Linked DNA regions of Homo sapiens: regions 2, 3 and 4 are each linked to region 1. Evidence: promoter capture Hi-C in human tissues and cell types (Jung and others, 2019). All regions are on one chromosome and are shown on one strand. Each heading gives the region's core, a stretch centred on a gene start or on the middle of the fragment in contact. The rest is flanking DNA. Distances are from core to core; before and after follow the strand shown. Region 1 holds the start of SCN2B (sodium voltage-gated channel beta subunit 2). Region 2 overlaps UBE4A (ubiquitination factor E4A). Region 3 overlaps CD3E (CD3 epsilon subunit of T-cell receptor complex). Region 4 has its middle 6.2 kb from the start of IL10RA.

Region 1 (4,105 bases), core at 264-2,763:
GTGCTTGGCACAGAGTTTATGCTCAAAAATATTAGTTGCTCCCTGTTTGGTACACAAAGGGCCCATCACAAATGCAGGTGACTGCTGCATGCGAATCTCTGCCCTACTTAACCATCTCCCCAGGAGTATGGGGGTCACCTCTGCTTAGGACCACCTTGGACTCCACCCACCAAGTTCTCCTACTTATGACGTTAGCTTATTTTTTCTTCCTTCTTCAAAAGAAAAGTTTTAAACATACACAAAAGAAGAGAGAACTATATGACAAACCCTTTACACCCATCACCAGCTAGTTTCAATTATCAAGCAAAACAACTAGTCTCGTGTCACCTATTCTCCCATCTCTTTTTTTCGTTGAATATATATATATGTATTTTTGAGATGGAGTCTCACTCTGTGGCCCAGGCTGGGATGTAGCGGAGTGATCTCGACTCACTGCAACCTCCGCCTCCCAGGTTCAAGCAATTCTCCTGCCTCAGTCCCCCCAAGTAGCTGGGATTACAGGCACACGCCACCACACCCGGCTAACTTTTGTATTTTTAGTAGAGACAGGGTTTCACCATGTTAGGGAGGCTGGTCTCGAACTCCTGACCTCAGGTGATCTGCCTGCCTCGGCCTCCCAAAGTGCTGGGATTACAGGTGTGAGCCACCCCGCCCGGCCACCCATGTGTGTCTTTAACAGATAGAGATGTTAAAGGACAAAACCACATTTTATCAGACCCAACAAAATTAAGAATGATTCATTAATACAATCTACTATGTAGTTCATATTTAACTTTTCCCAATTGTCTCAAAAACTTTTCTTTCCTGTTGATTTGTTTGAATCAGGTTTATCCAAAGGCCTGTGTTACATTCAATTGTAAGATCTCTTGGGTATTTTTCTATCAGCCTGCTTCAACATGTTCTGTTTTCAGAGGAAACGCTAGAATGAGGAAAGCATTACCCCTTGAAAGTCTCTCCAACTCACTTTCCTGAACCCTTTTCAATAACACAAAAACAAGCATCTCCTTTTTTTTTTTAGGTTTTTTTTTTTTTTTTCCCTCTGGAGGCAGGGCCCAGGCTGGAGTGCGGTGCAGTAGCTGGGACAAGAGGCATGCGACATTATGCCTGGCTAAATTTTGTATTTTTAGTAGAGATGGGTTTTGCCATGTTGCCCAGGCTGGTCTTGAACTCCTGGACTCAAGCAATCCATCCGGCCTCCCAAAGTGCTGGAATTACAGGTGTGAGCCACTGCGTCAGCCTGGGGGTGTTTTTAAATGATAAAAGGTGTTTCCCTTTCCAGAATCTTTAAAATAAATGGATTCCTCTAATAGCTTTCAAAATCCAACAATCATCCCAGTGAAGTCAAAAAGCAGGGTTTGTATTATTTCTTGTTTTAGAGGGTAAAAATTTCTGGGATTTTGTTCTTTTCAAAATGACTTTTTTATGCCCTCCCACCTGCTTTTTGAAATCCACCAACCACAATATTTACCCCATCCCCCTTTTCTCTCCCCCCCATCTCTCTCTCTCTCCTTTACACACTCCCTCTCTCTCTCTTTTTAGCAGCAACATACAAGCCGGCCATATTAGAGAGATGGAAATAAAGCTTCCTTAATGTTGTATATGTCTTTGAAGTACATCCGTGCATTTTTTTTTAGCATCCAACCATTCCTCCCTTGTAGTTCTCGCCCCCTCAAATCACCCTCTCCCGTAGCCCACCCGACTAACATCTCAGTCTCTGAAAATGCACAGAGATGCCTGGCTACCTCGCCCTGCCTTCAGCCTCACGGGGCTCAGTCTCTTTTTCTCTTTGGGTAAGTTAGACACATCTGCATGCTCCCGAGGGTTCAGAAGTGTAGCCGCAATGTGAAGAGGATGGGGGCAGGGGATAGGAAAGAAGACATTGCTAGCGCTTTCCCTCTGTGTCCTTGGGAGGGGAGGTGCTGGGGACTGGAAGGGACGTTGCTGGGGAGTGCAGAACCCTGGGACTACTTAGTCACAGAAATGTTGGGTCAGGGGATCTGAGTGTTGCTGGGGGCTGACAATTGTCAAGGGAGGTGAATCTTCTCTGGATTTCCCCTAAGTGGACCTACGTGGCGGTGGGGCAGAGAGTGGATTGACCTGCAGTCTCTTCAGGGATTATTTTTTGGAGTTGCTGCAAATGCGGGGTCCTGGGACTTAATGCTCCCTTAAGGGGCTTCTTTTCAGAAGCTTGATCCTGGTGGATTTAGGGTATTAGGAGAGTGTGCAGGGGAGCTGGTGGCAGAAAGTTGAGTCTGGGTCTGGCTTCTTGGCACTCGGTCTCACTGATCTGTTGGAACGTGTGTGGGAGTAGGTGGGAAGCGGGCTTGGGGAATGATGTCTGGGTTGGGAGGAGACCTGCTGAGGCACGCACTGATGGAGAAGGCACCTTTGGCTTGGGCCGGATGGAATGGAGGAAGGGCCAGGTGTAGAGATTCAGGAAAAAAATGGAACCCACAGGCTGAGCGAGGTTGCAGCCCTTTAAATCCAGCCTCAGAACTGCCCAGCCCAGTCTTGCAGACTGTCCTGTCAAGTGTTTGTATTTGACCACTCAGAGACTTCCTGGTGGGGAAGTGGGCTAGAAAGTTATTTGCAAGCCTGCTTTGTAGAGTTTCATTCTTGCTCCTAAACTTACTTATTGCTGGAGCAGCAACTGAGAGTCAAGTCCAAGGACTGTTGATGGAACTATTCCCCACCACAAAGGCTCTCTCTCTTTCTGTGGTGTGATGTGCTGGGTTTGGAGTAGGAGTGCTAAACACAGACAGTGCAGAGGCCCTGCCAGCCTGCTTTGCTGAGTTACTTGGCATATTAACATCAGAGCAGGAATGCTATGGAATCTCTGGCAGGACCTGGGTTTCAAGCCACCTTTGTCATTTACGTAATGATCACAGGCAAGTTACTCAACCCCTCTGAGCTTCAGTTCCCTCCCGGGTAAACTAAAGAATGCCTACTGCCTGACGTGTTTGTGATTTGGTGCATGGCAGGAACTCAACGATGGCTAACATAAGAATGCTTTTCGTGAGCCCAGGCACTGTGTATCTTGTTTAGCCCTCACAGCAATCGGAGGTAGATTCTATTATACTCAGGTTACAGGGAGGAAACAGATGACTATGGTAACGGGAGCTGAAATTTGAACTCCCTGTGTCTGACTTCAGCACATTCTCTTAAACGTTGGATTCCACTCCCCAATGTTCAAGAAATGGCACTGCTATATTAACAGTACCTAATTGATCAGAGTCTCAGGACAGGCTGAAAGAAGGGGAGTTGGGTGAGTGGCCTGTTGTAAGGAGGCCCAGCTGGAGGACAGGACCCTTTCCTCAGGAGTTAGGAAGCACTTCGTGCAGGAGAGAAGCCGCCTGGTGAGAGCCATGGCTAAGTAAAGATAGAAAGGGGGCTCAGTGACCAGGACCCAGAGCTCTGGGCTAGGGTGAGGAAGAGGGAGTCTGCGATGAAGAGGTCTGAGTGTTTGGGGTGGGGAGATGGTAGTGGGAGGAAGCTAAAGCTTCTGCAAAGCTGAGTGGGAGAGGATGCAGGAATGGGGACCTTGAACTTGAACTTGATTGGTGCTGTAATGAGGCATGTCCCTGGCACTCCAATGCTGAGGGCCGAGTTGACAGTGGAACTTTGGTGGTGTTGCAGTAGCATCGATCCCCAGGATGGAGGATGCCACAAGTGACGAGGGAGGGGACTCTGTCGGGGCTGGGCTTGTGGGGATGACTATGGAGGTGGCAAAGAGAAAGGGCAGGTGGGCAACCAGCTCTACCCACGGCAGAAGCATATGAGGCTAGTTTTAGCCAGAAACAATTCAAATGACTGGGCTTCCCTCAAGTTTTTCTTGAGACCGTTGACTCCACAGTCACTGGCCTGCTTACCAATGTATGGATTATGTTAGTGGAGGCATAGAAAGTGGAGTCTGGGCTGAGCATGGTGGCTCACGCCTGTATCCCAGTGCTTTGGGAGGCCGAGGTGGGAGGATCGCTTGAGGCCAGGAATTGGAGACCAGCCTGGACAACATAGCAAGACCCTGTCTCTACAAAAAAAAAAAAAAAAAAAAAAAAAAAAAGAAAAGAAAAATAAGCCAGGCATGGTGGCATGTACCTGTAGTCCT
Region 2 (3,632 bases), core at 4-2,503, 210 kb before region 1:
GTCCCAGCCCACAAGAAAACCATTTTAGTACTGAATTACAACTCATTAGGGCTTATATAAAGCAACAGGTTTCATCAAAAACTCTCTCACCTTAATGCTCTCCCGATAGGTATCTGTCCCCCACATGTATCTTAGGATAGGATACATGGGACGGCGGTAATTAAACTTCTGTTCAAATTGATGGGGGTCTCCTGGAGTAAGGCAAGAGCGAAATATCAGCAAAGGCGGTGCCATAAGAGGAAGAGTTTATGCTTATGTGTAGCCATTTGCTTTGTAGTCATTTGCTTTTGAGTGTGTTAAGGCTACTAACAAAATCTGCCCTGGAGTTTCTAAAGGCCTAGAGTTATCGCCAAGTGTTTGCTCATTTCCTTACTGATGAAGTAAGGGGGAGACAGAGATAAAGGATACCTTACTCTGCAAGAGACAAGTACCAAGCTGTAAAATAAAAGTTAAGGGAAACAAATGTTTCCATATCCAAACATGAGTACTTCTCAGGCTTTAAATGAGGGCTCAGGGCTGGCCATTATGGCAGTGAAAGCCATGTGCAGGACGGGACACTAAGCAATTCCCACATTCTTCACAGACAATATCCCAAACTGTGTAGCCAACAGGTTCTTGATTACTCTGAAAAATCAGGTCAGGAGCTAAAAATCTGAGGCTTATACTGCTTTTGAAATACCAAAGGTATTACTAGAGCTCCACAGGCTGGGTCATAATAAAGGAAGAGTGTAGGATTTGGAGTCAAAAGACCTACGTTTTCATTCTGGCTCTGCTTAATCTAAGTCTCTTAATCTTCTTCAGCTTCCACTTCCTCAGAAATAAAACAGAAATTGTACTCCATTACAACACTTTGGTTGTATGGTCACATAACGAGATAACTGCAATGATTTATTATACAATTTCTTATGTATTATAAAGATTTACATGCATTATTTCACTTAATCATCACTTTGACCCATTTTATAGATGAGGAAACTAAGGTTGATAGGTGAGCGAATTAAAAAAAACCAGAATCCAAATATGGAAAGGCGGCCAGTAAAATGTTAAATGCCTCTTTAAATGTTAGTTGTATTTATCATTGGATGGTAGATATCCCTTTAAAAAATGGTCTTCAACAACTTCTTAACATATCTTATTTACTGATTGAGACAGGGTACTGTTTAAACAAACACAGGGGCTCAGGGTTAGATAGAGAGGGAATGTTGCCTGCTGGTTTTTTTTTTTTTTTTTTTTTTTTGAGAGGGATTTCTTGCTCTGTCATCCAGGCTGGAGTGGTGCGATCTCAGCTCACTGCCACCTCTGCCTCCCGAATTCAAGCAATTCTCGTGCCTCTGCCTCCTAAGTAGCTGGGATTACAGGCACCTGCCACCATGCCTGGGTAATTTTTGTATTTTTGTAGAGAATGGGTTTCACCATGTTGGCCAGGCTGGTCTCAAACTCAGGAGCTCAAGTGATCTGCCTACTTTGGCCTCCCAAAACGCTGGGATTACAAGCATGAGCCACTGTGCCTGTCCGCCTGCTGGTATTTTTAATCGAACCATTAGACTGTTGGAGAGTTAGATAGTCTGGTTAAGATAAAAGAATCTCTCAACCAATACACTGCCTCTTTATGCACTATTCTGTAATTTTAAGGCAGAGAAATATAAAGACCCAAATAGTCTAATTTGAGTCTGATTTGATGATGCAACATAATAAGGGTGTTGAATATGTAGATTTCTTTAGGTGACACAGACCTGATTCTACCACTTGGTAGTTTGTTATGACATGGACAAACTGATCTTTTGGGCAGTCATGTCTTCATATGTAAAACAAGAATAATTAAAAAATAAAAAATAAATAAAACAGGGATAATAGAGTGAAACTTTTCCAATGGTGACAATGGGATAATGTTAAAAAAAAAAAAAAAGCACTTATCATCAAGCCTGGCATATAGTAGGTATTCAATAAGTAATGGCTTGACATTTCTTTGATATCCAAATACGGATCAAACTATGAAACTCCACTGGTATCAGCTTCCCAGTTCTGGGCTCAGCTTCATGACTGCTTTACCTGTAAATTCGATGTCCACAAAAACCTTGATTAGAGCCTCTGCAAGTTGGGGTGCATACTGAAAGTTGCAGAACACACGTTTCCGGTGGAACACACTGGATACCAAGGGATTTGGGGTCTGATCCAGGTGGGGCATCACTGCTTCCAACACCTCTGCTAGTTTGGCCCTCAGGTGGGGATTCTTCATTCTGCAAAATGGGCAAAAAGCAAGATGAGCAGATAAGCTTAACTCCAAATTTATGACTCTGTTCTCTCCACATAAGAATCAAAATCCACCCTAAACCATATTACAGGAAAAAAAAGGATCCACTTCTGCAGTTTTAAGTTTGTCAGTTTCTTGGTGCGGCTGGGCGGGGGGTGGGGTGGTGATGCAGGGTACATCATTTAACTCTTGAGTTGACAGCTTACCAAATATGACGGTGAGCACTTAAGTTTCTATTGAATGCTTAGCCATTGTTTACTTCTCTGTAATAATGCATTATTTACTGCTTCCTATTCTCTGACAGTTTCATGTGGAATAAACTTGCCTTTTCAAGCTTTCTGAGGGTAAAGACTAGAATATAATTATGCTACATTACCCATGACGCATACAGTGTATGCATAATACTTGTTGACTTATGACTTCTCATTAGGTATGCTCAGCTCAGTGAAGAAATGGCTTCTCTCTACTTATCACTGATACGGCTCAGGGAATTGTGGGTCATTCTCTTCATTGTGCAGCAAATCTTCACTTTTGTACACAGAGTTTCCACTTCCTTTAGCCTATGCATCAAAAAAATCAGGGAAGCAATTCTACAAGTCACAGTATCTTCCTTTGGAAAAGAGGACTAGAAGCTATGAGTGAGAAAACTTGAAATGAGAAATAACATTGACTTAAGTTTACTGCTCATCCAACTCAGAATAGCAAGAATAAGCTTTATTATCATATAATTATTAGAAGATCATTAGCACCTGGCTGCCACTGTTAAGTTTCTGGCATTAGGTTAACTACTTTAACCAGGGACTGGCAGTGGACTTCCCATAAGATACTTATATGCAGGATTAAATTCTCTGTGGACAAAGTCCTTTGTTTATTATACCTCTCAACAGTGGGATTTCTGGCTACCCATATGGATGGTCAGGTGATTCCTTAATGTTACCATAACTTCTGAAGGCAACCCCTTATGATTCAGGCTTGTTTATTTCTTGGTTTAGAAGTCTTCTGAATGTTTTACAGCCTAAACAGTGACAGAACCAAGCTTTCAGCACTTCACCTTTCTATGCTTCCAGTGAAAATGGTGATAAAGTGAAGGACATGCTCCAGGGAATCTGCTGATGTCTCCAAAATGTCATCGGCAAAGCGGCGGAGAAAAATGAGAAAATCACCCAGGTTATCTGCAAAAAATTCTGAAAAAGAAAATATTCACTGGAATTAGCCAAACATCTGTATATCTGTACTAATAAACAACATTTAAATTCCTTTCACCCTACTTAATGAAGGTTAAAAAAAACCCTAAATGTTTTGTTGGTACTAGAGATGGTCGTTAAGTCAATAAATGTAAAATCTCCTTTAAATGTAAGTCAATTTAAATTTTTATTCAAGT
Region 3 (3,859 bases), core at 37-2,536, 130 kb before region 1:
GAGGTCTTCAAGCTTATCCTCTTAAATTAGCCAGAACTGTATTACAGATAGATATGAATGACAAAAGAACCAACCAAATGCAGGAAGTCATCTGTCATCCAGGTCTTAGATTTGCTTGTCAGAAGGGAGCGCTACTGGCCTTCTCAGAAATAAAGCTCTCCACACCACTGAATCACTGATTCGTGGACTTACCTATTTCTTACAATTTAAAATCCTTTCTCAGAACTGAGTCCCTCATAATAGAGAAGAAACATCTTTGTTCTTATTCCATATAATTTTCTCTCTATTTGCCTTTAAATAATGTGAAATACTCTACACGTTTTGAGGGAATGCTTCTTCCAATAAAAAGTGGCTTCACTTTACATTATATCTGAGCATAATCAGCTCTCAATTATTTTTGTTAGAGGGAGGCCTATTAGTGTGGACAACTGAAATCAACTAATAAACCACTAATGCCATTCGTAGGTCCAGCCTGTGTTTCCCACAGCAGCCATTTTTGCCCTGGGAGGTGGAGCTAGGAGTCCTTTATTATTTCCTGGAAAACTTGTGGCTGGAACACTGGGTTCTGCTACAGTCTGGACATAACAGCTGGAAGAGAGGAGAGGCAGTGCTGCTGCTGTCAGGGACAGAGCTCTGGACTCAAGAGTCAGAAGCCCTGAGTTTGAATCCTGGATCTGCCCTAGTCTGTGTGACTGAGGGCAAGTCATTTAACTTTGCTGAACCTCAACTTCTTTATCAGGGAAATGGAGATAAAACACCAACCTCACAAAGTTTTTGCGAAAATTAAATGGATTATGAAGGTGAAAGTGAATGACACATAGCAGGTGCTCAAGAAAAAGTTACTTCCTTTCCTCCTTTCCTTCTTGAGGTCCTGCTACTCCCAGAGCAGAACTAAACTCTGACCCAGTTGCTCAGGCAGCCCTCTGACAAAGACTGCACAGAATGTAAACAAAACATTCTCCAGGTTTTTCCACCTGCTTATAATTGGGAGTTGAGTATAAGGACAGTAGATAGTTTATATTATTTTAATTTATAAATAATTTTTCAACACGGATGTTTCTTAGACATGTTAAATGAACTAGAAATCATAAATAAAGTACATAGACATTATACTCTGCTGGGTGTGTTTGTTTGAAAAAAATGTAAAGAAAATTGCTCACAACTTTTATTGGCACAAATTCAGTAGCAGAGCTTAGACTTAACTCATGCTCACACAAGGGTCTAGATGTCTGTGCTTAGACAGAAATGTGCTCCACGTATGTTCATTGTGCACTATTCACAATAGCAAAGACATGGAATCAACCTAAATGCCTGTCAGTGGTAGACTGGATAAAAAAATGTGCTGCATATACACCATGGAATACTACGCAGCCATAAAAAAGAATGAGATCACGTCCTTTGCAGGAACATGGATGGGACTGGAGGCCATTATCTTTAGCAAACTAACACAGTGACAGAAAACCAAATACCACATGTTCTCATTTAGAAGTGGGAGCTAAATGATGAGAACACATGAACACAGAGGGAAATGACACACACTGGGACCTCTCAGAAGGTGGAGGGTGGGAGGAGGGAGAGGATCAGGAAAAATAACTAACAGGTACCAGGCTTAATGCCTGGGTGATGAAATAATCTATACAACAAACCCCCATGGCACAAGTTTACCTATATAACAAACCTGCACATGTACCCCTGAATTTAAAATGAAAGTTAAGTTAAAAAAAGATATGTGTGCTCACAAAGATTTTATACATATCCAGAAACAGTATTTCATAATGGTTGAGAAAATGAACTTCGGTATCATATAAATCTGCATTAAAATTTTTTTATTTTTAAATTTCTATTTATTAATTTTTTCAGAGACAGGGTCTTTCTCTGCCACAGAGGCTCGAGTACAGTGGCACAATCTTTGCTCAATGCAGCCTCAACCTTCTGAGCTCAAGCGAGCCTCCTGCCTTGGCCTCCCAAAGTGTTGGGATTATAGGCATGAACCATGGCACTTGGCCTAAATCTGCATTTATATCCCCAGGACTGGATTGTTTACTTATTTTTGTTTATTTCTGTATTTATTTGAGGCTTTGTTTCCTTAACTGTACAGTAGGGGTGTTGGAAGAATTAAATGAGGAAATTCAAGTAAAATATTTAGAGCAATGCCTAAAACATACATGCTCAGTAAACTTTAATGCTTATCATCTATAGTCAGCATGCTTTCCATGTATTAATAGCTAAAATTCACCTACTGTCTGTTTGTTTGTTTGTTTGTTTTGAGACAGAGTCTTGCTCTGTCGCCCAGGCTGGAGTGCAATGGCACAATCTCAGCTCACTCCAACCTCCGCCTCCCAGGTTCAAGCAATTCTCCTACCTCAGCCTCCTGAGTAGCTGAGATTACAGGCACCTGCCACCATGCCTGGCTAATTTTTGTATTTTTAGCAGAGATGGAGTTTCACCATGTTGGCCAGGCCGGTCTCGAACTCCTGACCTCAGGTGATCCTCCCACCTCGGCTTCTCAAAGTGCTGGGATTACAGGTGTGAGCCACCATGCCCGGCCCTCCTACTGCCTTTTATGTCAGATAATGTTCTAAGTGCCTTAAATGAATTACTCATTTGGTCCTCATAATAACCCTACAAGTTAGGTAGCACTATTATTTCCATTGTACCATGATGATGCTGTGGCACAGAAAAGTTAGGTAAATTACTCAAACACACCCAGCAAGTAGAGAGTTGAGCCAAGATTCAAACATTCTGATCTAGCTCAGTTAGACTCTTATCCTCATACTATACAGCTTTATCTCTTCTGCATAAAATATTTTTCTTCCCTAAAACATAAGCTTATCCTTTAAAATTCAGCTCAAGGACCACCTCCCCCAGGGAACCTTTCCCAACGACACTCAGTAGAGTTGACCACTCCCCTCTTTATACTTCATTTTACTCTGTATCTACCCATATTATAACATGCAACTCACTATATTTTCAATTATTTGTCTCTCACACAAGACCATCAGCTTCTTGAGGGGAGGTAATTAGCAATGTGTTCATATGTTTGTTCATTTATTCATTCAAAAAATATTCATTGAGCACCTACTATGTGCCAGACACTGGGCTAGGTAAATGAGACACTGTCTCTGTCTGCCTTCAAAGATTTCATGGCTTATACAAAAACACATGGTAGCTCCAACCCACATCCATATGTGTATGATCAGAGATACATATATGCACAGCTATAATCTGACATGACAGCTAGCAACAAATACAGGCAAGTTTCATACGGATCCCATTGAAAGATACTTGTATTTTCCCTTTAATAGTTTTAGTTCTCAGGGTTTGTTACTGTGATTGTACTCTATGAGCATTTCATTCCATATTTGAAAACTTTTGCTAGATAGAGTGGAAATCTTCTTACCCATTTCTTCATTACCTGAAAAGGAAACAGTAAGAAGCCATTAGTAATGTTTCTATCGGCAATGAAGATCAGACCCTGCTCCCGTGGGTTGGGACTCTTCCCTCAACTCTTAGGAAACAATGGATCTTCCAATTCCCTCAGCTGCATAGAAAAAGCTGTTATGGGCCTTACATCTTATCTGATGACTATTTACAAAAATGGCTCCTAAGGACACTACAAATTAGGCAGCATGGCGGAATCTAGGCTGGCATAATGGTTGTCTTTATTTTATTTTTGAGACAGTCTCGATGTGTCACCCAGGCTAGAGTGCAGTGGTGTGATCTCGGCTCACTACAACCTCTGCCTCCCAGGTTCAAGCGATTCTCCTGCCTCAGCTTCTCGAGTAGCTAGGACTACAGGCGTACACCACCATGTCTGGCTGATTTTGGTATTTTTAGTAGAGACGGGGTTTCGCCATGT
Region 4 (3,821 bases), core at 1,271-3,770, 200 kb after region 1:
ATATTTACTGCACACTCGTTGTGGGCCAGATGCTATAATGATGCTAGGAATAAAATGGTGATCAAAACTAAGTCCCTTTCCCCAAGAAGCAATCTGGGCAGAGGCAGAAAGTGAACAGAGATTTTAATACACAGTGGTAAGTGCTCTGGGAAGGCAAGTACAGGCTGACTGGACAAAAGACAGAGGCACTAAACCACACTTGGGATAGAAGATAAGGAAAACTTCCTGAAGGAGGTGACATCTAAGTTGAGACTTGAGGGAGGAATAGGAGGTAGCTAATGAAGAGTGGATAGGGAGGGTATTCCAGACAGAAGGAAGTGTTTACTTGGAGATTAGGGAATATGGCATTTTTTAAGAACCCTGGAAAGTGGGTAAACTGGCACTCTTGTTTTAAGATGAGAAAACCACAGTGGCTAACATAGGTTAATACCTAGCTCAGGGCAGAGCCAGGATTTGAATGCAGGCTATTCCAATGTATCCTGCTGCCTCATGGAGAGCACCCAGAATAGGAGTTACGTCAGGCATGTGATTACTATACTTGAAAAGGAAGAAAAAGAAACACGGAATCCACATGTTTATTTTGTTTTGTTTTCAGTGTTCTGAAAAGTCCACCCTAAAGTTCTGTGTATTCTGGTATTCACACCAGTAGAGAGACATATGATAGGAGGCAATCATTAAAGGATCTTCTCTTTTTAAATTTTTTCTTAATTTTTATTTATTTATTTATTTATTGAGACAAGGTTTCACTCTGTCACCCAGGCTGGAGTGCAGTGGCTTGATCTTGGCTCACTGCAGCCTCTACTTCCCAGGCTCAAGTGATCCTCCCACCTCAGCCTCCTGAGTAGCTGGGACTACAGGTGCAGGCCACCATGCCCAGGTAATTTATTTTATTTTATTTTTTTTGGTAGAGATGACATTTCACCATGTTGCCCAGGCTGGTTTGGAACTCCTAGGCTCAAACGATCCTCCTGCCTTAGCCTCCCAAAGTGCTAGGATTACAGGCGTGAGCCACCACACCTGGCCATATCTTCTATTAATATTTATTGAGTTTTTATGACCTATCGGGCACTATGTGAAATACTTCACATGTTGTGGCAGAGAATGGCCAGATGCTTAGTAATACCAGTTCCTCTTCCTGGGCACATGGGGCAACTATATTTCCCAGTCCCCCTTGCAGTTAAGTAGAATATGTGGCTGGCTTTTAAGCACTGTAAAGTTGAGTTGATGGGTGCCACTTCCAGGCCTGGCTGCTAACTCTGTCTTTGCTATTCTGCCAGCCATCTGGAGGTGTCCAGTGGAGGACTCCAAGGGAATAGAGGGAGCTTGGGCCCCTGAATCACCTCTTGGAGGGCAGCTGTGCAGAAAAGACACCCAGTTTGCATCAGCCTATTGATTGGGTGAGGAGTAAACCCTCTCAAGCCACTGAGATTTTGTGAAGTTTTTTTCATAGCAGCTAGTGTTAACTACCCTGAATAATCTGCAAACCTTATTTCATTTAATCCTTATAAACACTCAGTGAGATAAGCATCATTATCAGTGTTTTACAGATGGGAAAATGAGGTGAGAGACTGAGTCACTTGCCCATGTCATTCACTCAGTACGTAGCAGAGCTAGAAGCCTGTTCAACTGGTCTGTTTGACTCCAGAGCTCATGCTTTTACTACCATGTGAACAGTGCCCTTCTGAATCTTGGAAGAATTCTTGCAAGAGACAAATGTCAAGTGATTGAGAGAAAGAGAGAACGGGGTTGGAGAAAAAGACAAGGGGGAGGGCAAGAGAGGAGGAACAGCTGAGGGCTGAGAGTCTTGTAGATGGTAGAGGGACGTGGCTAGCCCAGGGAACCAGGGAACCTGCTGCGTGAACATCTGGCCCCTAGGGTTACCCTGGGAAATTTTGAGGGCAGATTTTGGGCTCTGGGTGGTTCCATTGTCTCATTTTCATTTGACTTTATCTTGGTGCTCAGGATGATGCTGTTAAATGGGCATGCCTGGGGAGTCGGATGGGCATCTGAGTTGGCAGGAAGTCTGTGCTTGAGTGTGCTAACAAGCGTAACTTGCAGTTTCTGTCCCTCAACTGGTGAGTAGGGAAGTTCCAGGACTTGTGATCACTGTGTCAGAGCTGCACATAACAAGGAGAGAGACACAGAGGGAACTGACCGTAAGAAGGAGACACAGAGAAGGAAACTGTGTGGGTAGGAAACTTGGTAGTTGTTGGGTCCAGGAGAATTGCAGATGCACAGTGAGGGGCTCGCCCAGCCCCAGCAACGGCCCTGGGAGAAGTCTCCAGTTGCCAAACCTAATGAGTGTCCACATCCCTTCACCTTCTCCCTGGCTCCCCCCTGGAGGAGCACCAAAGAGCTCAGAAGGGACAAAACCCCATTCTCAACATTCCTCTCGACTCTGTGTGGTGGCTCAGGCTTGAATGGGGAGTTCCTAGAACTTTAGCTGGGTGGGTGAAAGGCATCAGTGAAGGGTTTTAGGCAGGAGAGGGATATGGCAGATTTGCATTTTAAATAGAAGAGGAAATCTAGAGCATGAAGGTGAGTAGCCAGGGTAACTCACTAGTTAGTGACAGAATTAAAACTTTGGTCTCCAGATCGAAGCTCAACTCTCTGGCTCTCAAACCATAGCAGCTAAGTTTGTGGAACTGTGAAGACTGCGTGAGGTTGTCATGCCCATCAGTTTAGGGGGAAGGGGAAGAAGTACTGATCTCCCAGGTGAAGGAATGCCCATGCTAATTACTTTAAATCAGCAGAGCTGGGGCTAAGAGCCTTCTCATTCCTATAATCTGCCTGGGACACTGTTCTTGGTCATTGCCTTAGGTGGGAGGAGCCTGGTTACCTCAAAACCAACAGACCTACTTCTAGCCCCAGCTTGGTCACTACCAGTCGTGCACCCTGGAACCGGTCCCTTTGGCTCTATTAGCTGTTGGCAAGATTGGAATCTGGGCTGTTGTAAAGCCAGACACAAAGTGTTCTGGTAACTGATAATGGCTTCTCAAGTGAGAGTGAGAGGTGACAGCCTGCTGGCAGTCCTCAGAGCCCTCGCTTGCTCTCGGCACCTCCCCTGCCTGGGCTCCCACTTTGGCGGCATTTGAGGAGCCCTTCAGCCCCCCCACTGCACTGTGGGAGCCCCTTTCTGGGTTGGCCAAGGCTGGAGCCCACTCCCTCAGCTTGCAGGGAGGTGTGGAGGGAGAGGCTCCAGCGGCAACCGGGGCTGCGTGCGGCGCTTGCGGGCCAGCTGGAGTTCCGGGTGGGCGTGGGCTTGGCGGGCCCCGCACTCGGAACAGCCAGCCAGCCCTGCTGGCCCCGGGCAATGAGGGACTTAGCACCCGGGCCAGTGGCTGCGGAGGGTGTACTGGGTCCCCCAGCAGTGCCGGCCCACCGGCGCTGTGCTCGATTTCTTGCCGGGCCTTAGCTGCCTTCCCGCGGGGCAGGGCTCGGGACCTGCAGCCCGCCATGCCTGAGCCACCCACCCACTCCATGGGCTCCTCTGAGGCCCGAGCCTCCCCGTGGAGCACCACCCCCTGCTCCAAGGCGCCCAGTCCCATCGACCACCCAAGGGCTGAGGAATGCGAGCGCACGGCGCAGGACTGGCAGGCAGCTCCACCTGAAGCCCCGGTGCGGGATCCATTAGGTGAAGCCAGCTGGGCTCCTGAGTCTGGTGGGGACGCGGAGAGTCTTTATGTTTAGCTCAAGGTTTGTAAACACACCAATCAGCACCCCTGTGTTTAGCTCAAGGTTTGTGAGTGCACCAATCGACACTCTGTATCTAGCTGCTCTGGTGGGGCCTTGGAGAACCTTTGTGTCCATACTCTGTATCT

What was found. Contacts are between HindIII fragments. The study calls those that stand out against the background at their distance.
Region 2: a contact is called between a fragment that was not itself captured here and the fragment with the promoter of SCN2B in region 1, in 2 of the 25 tissues and cell types used here (bladder and dorsolateral prefrontal cortex).
Region 3: a contact is called between a fragment that was not itself captured here and the fragment with the promoter of SCN2B in region 1, in 1 of the 25 tissues and cell types used here (spleen).
Region 4: a contact is called between a fragment that was not itself captured here and the fragment with the promoter of SCN2B in region 1, in 1 of the 25 tissues and cell types used here (liver).

The regions. Positions count from the first base shown.
Region 1 is chr11:118,174,047-118,178,151 of GRCh38, reverse strand. SCN2B (sodium voltage-gated channel beta subunit 2) reads left to right here and starts at 1,513. Exons shown (of 4, transcript NM_004588.5): 1 at 1,513-1,790. The coding sequence starts at 1,721. The HindIII fragment of the contact is 9,424 bases long and covers 1-1,885 here.
Region 2 is chr11:118,381,194-118,384,825 of GRCh38, reverse strand. It overlaps UBE4A (ubiquitination factor E4A), which reads right to left. Exons shown (of 20, transcript NM_001204077.2): 12 at 3,303-3,435; 13 at 2,050-2,237; 14 at 91-191. It overlaps LOC100131626 (a long non-coding RNA gene), which reads left to right. Exons shown (of 4, transcript NR_046370.1): 4 at 3,319-3,606. Among named protein-coding and RNA genes, the nearest start is that of ATP5MG, 19 kb to the left of the region's middle. The HindIII fragment of the contact is 4,714 bases long and covers 1-3,610 here.
Region 3 is chr11:118,307,983-118,311,841 of GRCh38, reverse strand. It overlaps CD3E (CD3 epsilon subunit of T-cell receptor complex), which reads right to left. Exons shown (of 9, transcript NM_000733.4): 4 at 3,401-3,415. Among named protein-coding and RNA genes, the nearest start is that of CD3E, 5.2 kb to the right of the region's middle. The HindIII fragment of the contact is 5,427 bases long and covers 1-3,859 here.
Region 4 is chr11:117,978,239-117,982,059 of GRCh38, reverse strand. No RefSeq gene overlaps it. Among named protein-coding and RNA genes, the nearest start is that of IL10RA, 6.2 kb to the left of the region's middle. The HindIII fragment of the contact is 4,071 bases long and covers 485-3,821 here.